Regions from separate parts of the Homo sapiens genome. Here regions 2 and 3 are each linked to region 1. Evidence: promoter capture Hi-C in 16 types of primary human blood cells and fetal thymus (Javierre and others, 2016). All regions are on one chromosome and are shown on one strand. The core of a region is centred on a gene start or on the middle of the fragment in contact, and the rest is flanking DNA. Distances in the headings are between cores, read along the strand shown. Region 1 holds the start of NIBAN1 (niban apoptosis regulator 1). Region 2 has its middle 29 kb from the start of HMCN1. Region 3 overlaps LOC107985239 (a long non-coding RNA gene).

The links. Contacts are between HindIII fragments. The CHiCAGO score rates a contact against its expected background, and 5 or more counts as called.
Region 2: a fragment that was not itself captured here is called in contact with the fragment with the promoter of NIBAN1 in region 1 in 2 of 17 cell types (total CD4 T cells and naive B cells); the score reaches 5.2 in total CD4 T cells.
Region 3: a contact is called between a fragment that was not itself captured here and the fragment with the promoter of NIBAN1 in region 1, in 5 of 17 cell types (megakaryocytes, naive B cells, total CD4 T cells and 2 more). The highest score is 8.0, in megakaryocytes.

Annotation. Positions count from the first base shown.
Region 1 is chr1:184,972,577-184,976,170 of GRCh38, reverse strand. NIBAN1 (niban apoptosis regulator 1) reads left to right here and starts at 1,663. Exons shown (of 14, transcript NM_052966.4): 1 at 1,663-1,869. The coding sequence starts at 1,815. RefSeq lists a silencer at 1,879-2,198 and an enhancer at 2,309-2,478. The HindIII fragment of the contact is 8,420 bases long and covers 1-3,093 here.
Region 2 is chr1:185,703,137-185,706,730 of GRCh38, reverse strand. No RefSeq gene overlaps it. Among named protein-coding and RNA genes, the nearest start is that of HMCN1, 29 kb to the left of the region's middle. The HindIII fragment of the contact is 889 bases long and covers 1,160-2,048 here.
Region 3 is chr1:185,677,250-185,680,843 of GRCh38, reverse strand. LOC107985239 (a long non-coding RNA gene) reads right to left here. Exons shown (of 3, transcript XR_001738340.2): 2 at 1,289-1,395; 3 at 1-140. Among named protein-coding and RNA genes, the nearest start is that of GS1-204I12.4, 33 kb to the right of the region's middle. The HindIII fragment of the contact is 1,068 bases long and covers 1,230-2,297 here.

The DNA.
Region 1 (3,594 bases), core at 414-2,913:
TCTAGGCATTTGAAATACAGCAGAGGACAGAATAGACAAAAAAATCCCTGCCATAAGAGGAAAAATAATAATAAAAAAGGAAACAGAAATTTTGAGGGAAAAAGCCCCAAGAAACAACAATAACAACAAAGAAAATCCCTGATCTTATAGAGTTTACATCGCAGTGGGGGAAGATAGACAAAGAAATATGTGTTAGATGATACTAAGTGATATGAAACAGAAATAATGAAGAGCAAGTGGCAGAGAGAGGTGATGGCTGGTGTTCCTGGGTCAAGGAGAACCTCTCTGAATTACTAGCATTAAAGTGGAGGCTTGAATGAAATGACTGAGAGAGTAACCTATGTGAATATCTGAAGGAAGAGCATCCTACAGAAATGAAAAACAAGTGCAAAGGCCCTGAGCTTGATGTGTCTCAGAAAGAGTAAAAAAAAAGGCTAGTAGGGCTGGAACAGAGAGAACAAGGAGTGGTGGTAGAGAAGATCACAGAGGAAACTCCACCTAGGCCCTGATAGACGTCGTGGCTTTTCTCTGAAGAAGGTAGATCAGTTAGGCAGCTAGTGTAATGAATAAGGTGAGGAATGATATGGGATGTCAGTAGAGGGGATGAGAATTGGTTGGCTATTGGACATATTTAAAAGCTGAATTGACAGGATTTACTGACAGATTGGAATGTAGAGTGTGAGAGATTGGGTGTGAGTGTGATGAAATAATTGTGTTAAAGTGCAAGTTAGCTAATAGGGAAGGCGGGGGTGTGTGGGAAAGCCTTCAAAGTCCTCCTCAGGCCTGGTTCTAGTGTATACAGACCATTTGACCTTGAGGTTAAGTCAATAGGAGTCGCAAAATAACTGACTACTAAGAATAGGATGAAATCAGCGGTGACCCCTCTGCCCAAGTGGGTCTTGTTCCGAGAGGCTGCCAAGCTAAATAGTGGTTGTGGGAAAAGAACAAATATCTTTTCTAATGATTGATTTCCAGTTAAGGAGAGGAATGGAAAGTAAAGGGGTAAGGACAGACGTTCATCAAGTCTTAGGAAGTTTCAGGGCTGGGAGTATATTGCAGGACCAAGCCTTAGTTTTTCCCTGTCTTTCCATTTTTTTTTCTCTTTCCTTTTTTCCTCATTTCCCCACTCCCTCCTTGGTCCAGGTTCTCGCCTGCAGAAAGGTATAGTTTACCTCTAGTTCTCAAACTTCAGCGGGCATCAGAATTCCCTGGAGGGTTTGTGCAAACACAGATTGCTGGGCTCCACTCCCACAGATTCTAAGTGTGTGTGTGTCTGTGTGTGTGTAGAGGGGTGGTGGACGAAAGCGCTGAGATTTTGTATTTCTAACAGGCTCCCAGGTAATGCTTGGGAAGAACTGTTGCTTCTTGGACAGCAACACTTACAAGGCAACGTGATCTTGAGCTCCACCTCGAAGGATGTGAGCTGGGAAAGTTCCAGCTCACAGAGATTTAGTCACTTGAGAAATGGTCCACTTCCTCCAAGGTGTTTCTTGGATGCCCCAAAGGGATGAAAACAAGAAGTGACCGTGGGCGAGGAGGAGGAGCTGGCCGACCTCCTCGGTTGCCAGCCCGTCGGAGCTCACCAGCTAGGCGAGGGCGGGAAGACAGCCCCCGGGCCGGCCCACGGATCATCAGAAGGCGCGGACCTGGAGGAGGCGCCCCAGAAGGCGACGCCTCTTGCCTCCTGTCTCTCGCCTCTCGAAGGAAGTTTGCTCTTAATTTCAGAGCCGGGTTCGCCGTCGGATCAACCTCCAGGAGCTAGCAGCGGGCGCGGACCGGGCAGTTTCCGCGCTCAGCACAGGCAGCTCGCGGTCATGGGCGGCTCAGCCTCCAGCCAGCTGGACGAGGGCAAGTGCGCTTACATCCGAGGTACGCCCGCCCGCCCGGGGGCCTGGGGAGCACCCTGACCCGTGCACCAGGCTGGCTGCCGCGGTCGGGGCCCCAAGGGGCGCGCCCCGGGCCCTCTCCCTGTAGCGCGCGGGGATCCCCGACCGCAGCCCGCCCGCGCGAGTCGGGTTTCCTGCCCCAGCCGGCGCGCTCCGGCGCGGGTGTGGACCGGGGACCGGGAGGGCTTGGGAGCGAGGCAGGTGCAGGATGCGGGTGGGGACGCCGGCGCCTTCGCCGCTCCCGCCGCCTCGGGGTCAGTGCCGCCCCCGCCCGGCGCACTTCGCCCTCCAGTACCTGCCCTGGACTGAGTTCTGAGCGGTTTCTGAACTGGCCGCCAAGAGAGCAGCGGGGATATCCCGCGTTTCTAGAGATACCCCTGGGGATTCCCGGCAGCTAAAGCAGAATTTCCCTCTTAGTAATGTTGGCCTGGCTTTGGAAAGCGCGGCGTTGGCCGCAGCTTCGCTCGCACTTCATCCTAGCACTTGCAGGATGATTTCATCAGCGGCAAAAAGGACAATGTCATGCCGTTCCCTTCCCGCCCCGGAGAGGGGCGAAGCAAAAGAGGAACACTGGCGTGCTTTGTAACTGCCCGAAAGTTACAGATGGGGAGAAACTCATTTAGGGAGACCCTCAGAGATGTGGGGACTCAGTAGAGAGCGTGAGGCTGCAAAACAAACAAAACAAAACCCAAACCGAACTGAAACTGCAGGAAGTCCTGACTCGTTATCTCCTTTATTTCCTGGGCGTATTTGGCCTCCCCTCTTCTCACCCCCCACCCCAAACTTGCCTTCAACCGCTACCTAACATTTGGTTATCTTACCAATTTACTGTCTTTCCCCCGCCCCGCCGCCAGATCCCCCACCCTCGGCTTCAGAAATATCTTCCAGACTATGTATTAAACTCTAGGTTTATTTGGCCCTTGAATCCTTTCCTAAGAGGAAATCATTTATTTGGTGTTCTTATTCCACATTTGTTTTCAGTCACCACAACATTTAAGACCGTTTTAAAAAGATATCAAATCAGGGTACGTGAAGAGCAACGGAGCTGATTTTACAGATTCCTGCTCTGGTGCTTTTGGAGGTAAAAGATCCTCAACAACCTGTACTGTCAGGGGATAACACTTGGTCAAGTATCTCTTTGCTTTTGTTTGTTAAAGGGGAAAAGACGGATGATTTATTTATATTAGTAAAAGAGCTGAACTAAGCTTAAAAGAAATAAATGAAGCCTGCCTTAGTCTTAAAAATGTGGCTACATGCTTGTGTTACCAGTGTATAGGGACTGAAAGGGCAATCAACAGAACGTAGTGAGAAAGGGCTTGCATTTGAATGTTAGCAAAGTTGTGTTTAAGGCATTTATATAAGACTTTATTTCACTGGAAAGCTTAGGAGCACCTAATGTGGACGCATGGCCAAGTACACTAATCATTTGAAGTTAAGCAATGTGAAGGATTAACATGCTTAAAGAAGACTTCCTGGCCGTGCCATTTGTTGCTATTGATGCAAACATTGTACTCAGATAATAAGAAAATGCTATTAATTTCTTTATTCTGAAAGCTATTAAATTATTACATATACAAAAGTACGAGGGAGTTAGGGCAGATGAAGAACTTGTAATGCAAGTGTTTGAATGAGTAAACCTATAGCATATGGTGTGACAGTCATTACATTTCCCAGTCTTGTTCAGCTTTCTCTCTTCATTCTATATTCA
Region 2 (3,594 bases), core at 355-2,854, 730 kb before region 1:
CAAGGAGGGATAGCTAGTTCTCTATGACTGAATGGACAACTGTACATCAGCAATGGTGTGAAACAAATATCTTCTTCGAAAAAGCATTTGGATGTGATGATCTCTAAAGATCTCTCCTGACTCTAAGATTCTCCAAATTCCCATACAGTAAAGTTTCCACACCAATAGATACATAAGATAGATATGTAGTTTATAGTTAGTGGGCTAGAAAGGCTAGACAACATATCTAACACATGCATGCATTTAAACCTCACATGCCTTATATCAGACATGCTCAGCTTCCCAGAACACCATAGATGTCTACATATCTTCATCCATTAATTCCAACCTTCCCTCAGAAAAGATATAGGAAGGAGATGGTGATAGATTAACTCCATAATAGTTATTTGGGGATTATCCACTATAGTAAAAATAGAAAATAAAATATGAATAGTATGACAAATTTGTGGTCTTGTGTCCTACCAAAATATCTCCTGCCTAGAGGTTTTTTTAAAAAAATAAAAAACACTGGGGTATATAACTACACTTTCTGAATTTAGGGCTGAGAGTCATAGAGTCCAAATTATTCAACTATTCTCTGCACTATCATAATAAAGCAAGCTCATGATTTCCCAAAAGATAGAAGGTACCATTGATACATTTTTTTTCTATGAAACGTTCACAATGTTTTAGGAAAGCTTTTAATGGTACATGATCTACATCTCTGTTTAATCTATGTTTCTGTTTCATGTTTACATAGTTTTATGTATGTCAATATGTTCTCACTTTTACAGAGTCTCTCTTGAATTGTAAACTATGAGAGAGAAAGAGACTCTCTTTTATAGATACAACATGACACAAGATACTTGGAGAATTTTTAAATATAGTAAATAGTGCTTTAGTTAAATGTTATTGTGTTTTGTCATAACCTGCAACTAATAGTGCTTTTTGATCCCCCTCATGGGGTTGTTGGGATGATTAAATATGACAGCTAGGGCAAGGCACTAGCACGGTGTCTAGCAATCAGTAAATCTCCATTAAATATCAGCTCCAGGTTTGATACTGAAACAAGTATTAGGGGTCAATATTTATGCTTAAAATTAAATATGCAAAATTGTAAGATTCTTACCCCTGTAGTGATATGGTGAGAAGAGGCAGAGCACAGAAGTTAGCACAAGCTTTAGAGCTCAACAGTCAGAGTTTGGGCCATGGCTGTTATACTCAGTAACTGTATGACCTCAGGAAGTTATCTGACTCCCAGCTCTTCAGTTATCATTAAAGAATTATTTTCAAAGTCATTAGAGATAGTGTTTATAAAGCACCTAATGTGACAACCAACACATAGTAAGCATTCAATAAATAGTAGCAGTAAATCCAAGGGGGGCTTCAGTCCATATTACCTCATCTCAAAGGATTCCTCTAAGTACTTGTCATTCTGTATACAACTCTTATTTTTATCTAATAATTTGATTTTCCCCAGATGGTTATTACATATTTATATAATGCCTATGTTCGTAAAAAAGCACATAATTAATTTTTTAAATGTATTAAATGCCCTGATAAGGAAACGCATCCAAAATTGAAAAAAGGAAGAAACAAAAAAGTAGATTGCAAGTTCTTCCAATATTTTATGGGTTTAAGATTTACCCAAGGGATTACCCAAGGGATTTCCCAAGGGATTATCCAGGAGAATATAATTTGATTTACTATATACTACTGATTAAAAGTCTCAAACGTAGTGACATTACCACGAAACTTATAAATTTTTGTCCAGTAAAAATGAAAATAAAGTCTGGCTTGTGGAACAGATTATCCCAAAGGTAATGGTATCCTGTAGGATATTAACCAGAATTTTTTAATGCAGTGTAGCAATCTTATCCTGACATTCCTTTATTAAATTGCTTATAAATGCCTAAGTCCTCAAATGCTTTTGCAACCAGCATAAACATCTTACTGATTCCTTCTTTAATAGATAAGCTGAATAGAATCTTTGACTTGTTTATTTTATATTTGCATGCAACTCATGGTTTTCATTTTCTTAAAATTATGTTAGTAGCTTTGAGAAAGCTTAGTAGAAAAAATAATTACCATAGTTAATATTTTAGAAAGTGAAAAATTATTTAGCAACATGAATGATCACTTTCTAATTAATCTCTTATAGCAGCCTTTTCTATGTGTTTTCTCATACCTGAGCATTCTTGTGTTCAGGCCACTGGCATGAGCAAGTACAACTGCCACTTGCTGCAGCAAGATAAGTCGGCTGAAGTTCTAAAGTCTCTTATACAGCTGTATGAGTAATGAGTTCAAAAATCACTCTAACAATTGCTATTGGCTTCCCTTTCTTTGCTTATTCCAATCCTTATTAATGGTCTGAGAGATAAGGCTCCTGTTACCACATGCACACAATGTCTGGCTAGCATCGCACATACGAGATATGGTTTCATTCCAGTTTTCCTGCCACCAGGGGAAATAAACAACAAAGTTGGACTCTGAAGGAATGGGCTTGTTGGTTTAGCCCATTTTGCACCTTGTTAATGTCTTACTCATCCATATAGTGACCATCTGGCAACACTTGGAGCCAGATTTCTGCTTAATTAAGTCATGTGAATTATCAGAGGCTTACATACCCAAAATTTAGAAGAAACAAAGGTGTGGACAATTCTAATCTGAATTTATTATTGTGTGACTTATTCAAAGTCAGATGATGCATATTTTCATGGACAAAAAAGTTGAGGTATATGATGAATTCTATAGATTCAAAATAGTAAGAACAGAAAAGGTATAAAAGGGAAAGTTATTCTCTTCACAGAAGGATTCTCCATGGTAAAAAATAATTCATAAAAGACCTTTTAAGGAGCAAAACCCCCTAATACTCTAAACTTTTCTTTTTCTCAACACAAATGCTTAAAGCAGTGTGGTACATTAAGCAAGACTTTGGCACAATTAGTAGTGTGCCACCTTAGAGAAACCTATTCATCTCACTCGGATAGGATTTCCTTATCCAAGGAATAAAGAAGCAGACCTAGTAGAACTCTAAGACACCAGCAAGTTCCATTTTATGACTTACAGACAGCTTTTTGAGAGGACACATTACATAAAATAATATATTCCTGAAGTAATGTGAGGAAAACAATTGCCAGAGGATGTCCATAGGGTCAACTCATTTGACTTAAGGAGAAAGGACCATGTCCTGTGATAGATCTACTCATGCTGCTAACTCCTTTTGTCTAACAGACAGAATAGAAAAAGAACACCAAATGAAGCAAGTTTTAAGGGTCTTAATTAGAGCTTTACCAATGACTAGTTGTTTGGTCTTGGGCATGTCACTTTGCCTCTTACAAAATGAAGACTTAAACTAATTCTCTCTTCCAGCACTAATTTTCATTGTCTACTCAATCGAAAGGTATTTAGTTAGTTGCAGGGGTAGCTAGATCTAGCCTATATTTTCCATTTACTGACACTGCTAGTAGGCTTTAGACACATGAATCCCAGCTCTGATGCTTACAAGCCTTATAACTTTGGGCAAATCAATTAAATTTGTAGACCCTCAGCTTCCTCATCTGTAAAATGAGAACAAAGATGCTATCTATAGCATATATTTTAAAGATTAAATGG
Region 3 (3,594 bases), core at 514-3,013, 700 kb before region 1:
AACACAGCCAACACAAGGAAATCAGTCAGGGTGTTCCATTATTTGCCAGATGAATGGTCAGCTATTTCGGAGGGTAGAGGTCTGATCTCTTCTCCCAGGTAAAGTAAAGCCAGGGCCTTGGCTCAGCTGGGATTCCGGAGCTGAAAGTACATAGGAAGTGAGTCTGTGGGGCACGCTGGTTGCTGTAGGTGACAGCAGAGGGGAAGTGACATCTGTGGCTCAGAGAAAGGGTAGAAGGAGCCAAAGAGGCTCCAAGGCCCTCATTCATTTATTCAATAAACATAGAGTAAGGGCTTAATGTGTGCTAAGCACTGTGCCAGAGCCGTGTGACCTCATGGTGAAAGAGAGCCTTCATAAGTGAGAGAGTGTTAGAGAAGTAAAAAACAGAATTTTGAAGATCATGTTCATCAGGGGTTGCTCAGCTAGTGGTTAAGTTCAAGGAGATGACGAAGACAAGAATGGGACCCAAACCAAGGGTAGGAGCAAAGATTCAGTGAACTGATAAGAAGAGCCAGTGGCATTCAGGAAGCCAGCCTGGGAAGATAGGCAGAGGTAGCAGTGCATGCAGCGAAGTGTGTGCTTCAGGTGTCTGAGCCCAAGGGGGAGGGCAGGTGAGGAGCTGAACCTGTTTATAGAGGAAGGAAAGAGTCATGGACACAAGTTCACCTCTAGGCTGTAGCAAGGACACAGTGGGCGATAAAACATTCATTTGTTGAGTAACTTAACAAATGATGAATGAATGAATGAATGAATGAATATGACTGTCCTCCCTTTCACATTGTTTGATTTAATTAGTTTGATCCTTGAAGAGTATTTGAAGCAGTAAGTCTTAGAAACTTCTGTCCTGATTGCCCAGGTTGTATAAAATCTAGCACCTTTTCTTCTTTTTACTGCTCTATTTCCTGTCCTGTTCCTTCTGACTCTCCTTAACATTCTAGAGCTCTTTGAATCTCATGAGTCAAAGAAAGGAAAGGGAGTGAAGCTGAGCCATCAAGTTGCATATTTGGGGCAAATCATAGCAAAAGACTTGCTGCAGAAACAATCGATTGTTTTAGATTTTCATTTGGCTACATTATCCTTCTATCTATACCACAGGTGTAATAAAAACTGTTATTTTACTTTGCCAGTGGAGAGTGTATCCAAGTGGTTTACAGTTCACAGCTAAATAAAACACTATTTGGGTTCTCATTAAAACCTTGTTAGGATGTTATATAATAGAGGAAGAAGCTTAGAGGGACAGCAAGGCCATTTGATGCTTTGGAGCACGTATTGTCTTCCCACTCATTACCTTGCCAACGTGAGTGTGCACAGTTGGTCCTTCCAGCAAGCTCCGGACCTGCCTCTTCACATCCTTGGCTGCATTACTGAGAATCTGTCAGCTCATTCTCCTCACCCCTGGGGGGAATCACACAAGGAAGTTCAGTCAGGGTCAAGGTGCCTTGTTTCTCTTCCTCTTCAATGGATTTACTCTATAATCCTATTTGTCCTGCCAAATGAAAGGAAATCCTCATTGTCTTTTCACACTTCAGCTTCCCTAACGCAAGAGCTATCTTAAGAGTTATGACTAAGTTACCAACTTGCTTCACGTAGGTATTTGTTTTTTCCTGGAATGGTGATGGGATCAAGGCCCAAATCTATGAAACAGTTTGTGAGAATTTTTGGAACTATAAGGCATTTGTCAGGATGGATAGTGGTGGTTTGATGTTGATCTTACTCATTTTCATTTCTGTTATTCTCTGAGAATTTTAACCATGTTATTTGAAACTTCTTCACAAAAATGACTTAATGATAAAAATTTCAGAAGAGCAAAATGTTAATAAGCCCCAGTTCCTAATCTGGTCTGTGTCTAGTAATAGTTAATGCCTCAAAATTTCAGGATTATTAAAAATAAGTCTTCTTAAAGTTGAAATAAACCTTTTTCTGTTTCTTCAGGTAATTGAAAGGATGCCATATGTTATTTTAAATGCAAAAATATTGTATCTCAAAGGATCAAAGGATCCAATTGGATCTCAGAAAAATGCTATCTAGAGAAAAACTACCATTATAAATCATAGAATTATAAAATAATAAGGTGAAAATGGTCTTAAAGGTCAGTGCAATAATTGATAGTCTTGTCCCTTTGCAGATGAGGAAGCTAAGGCTGCTCAAATGACATGATGTGTACATGATGACAAAACTCATGAATTCATGAATTCAAACACGAATCTTCCATTCCCCAAAGTCCAAGCCCATGTACAGAAAATTCTAGGCCACTGCACATCCTCCCTTTTATAATTGCACATTTAGTAATACAAGCTTCATATTAAATTTCCAAGCTCATATCTGGATTGAAGAATATGTCTCCATGCATATCGTTAAACATTTCCAACAGGTTTTTTTTTTAAATTTATTGCATTTGGCCTTTATTCTCAACTCAAAAGCTTGGTATAAGTGCAAGCCTTTTGGAATTTTTTAAAAGATAAAGATTTCCTTTGTGTCTGAGATCTAGATTTTCCTCAGACCTTATTTCAACTTGGTTAGTTCAATTTTCCTCTTTAAAACTCCTTTATTTTCATTTAACTAAGGAAGTGTGTTCATCATGTACCTTCTTACCTCTTGAAATATTTGTTTTGTTTAGCCATAAAAGTCCAAATGCAATTTAACACCTAAAAAGAGAAGAGGTGCAATTGTAAAACTGTAACAATTTTGCTAAATTGAGCAGTACTTCTTTAAAAATCTTAGGAAATATGAATTCTTCTATTATGAGCTATACACTTGTTATCACTGAAAGATAATTACTACTTTTCTAAACTCAGCCAGTGAGGTATATAATCCTAATGTCCTTTCTCCAAGGTAAGAAATGGTCATCTTTCTGGATATTAAAAGACAATAAATACATCAATTAAATTAAAAAGATGAAGATTATTAAAGTGATTTAACAGATTTAAAGATTATTAGAGTTCATTTGGAGCTGACTACAGCTCCAAAGGATGAATATTAAATGAAACTTATTAAATAATTTTTAATTCAAATCAATTTCATATTCTTGAGTTGTTCATCAAAAATAAATGCTGACATGTTATCATCCAACAAGTTCAAAGCACTTCCTGTTTGGTAAAAAAGGAGACCTAATGTTCTGCATAATCACGTTGTCTTGAGAAAAGACTTCGGTTTTACAGAAATTATTCTCTCTCCCATGCCAGGAATTGAAGGAGGGAAAAGAGAAAAAAAAAAGTTCTTGGGTAGAAAAATAATTCTTGTAGTATCATTATTAAATTTGGCTACAAACAGTATTGGTATGCTTTATGTCTAAAATAGTACCATTGGAATTGCTTTAATGGATGAATAATTATTTTACAATGTAACCATGGATTTTATCAAAATACCTCCCTTACGTAAGGCAAAAGTGAGCAAGTTTAAAAACAGTAACTCATGATCACCTGCTACTGTAAAAATCCAGTGATATGCATACCTTTCATTCAGAAGTTAGTAATGCCCTCTAGATCTCTCTTTTTATTCTGCACCTTTGTCAACCAACCCACTTTATGGCTATTAAGTCCCTAAAGCTTCTGAATCCTCTACAGCTCATCTCAAAACAAAAGCTAACCACCTGAC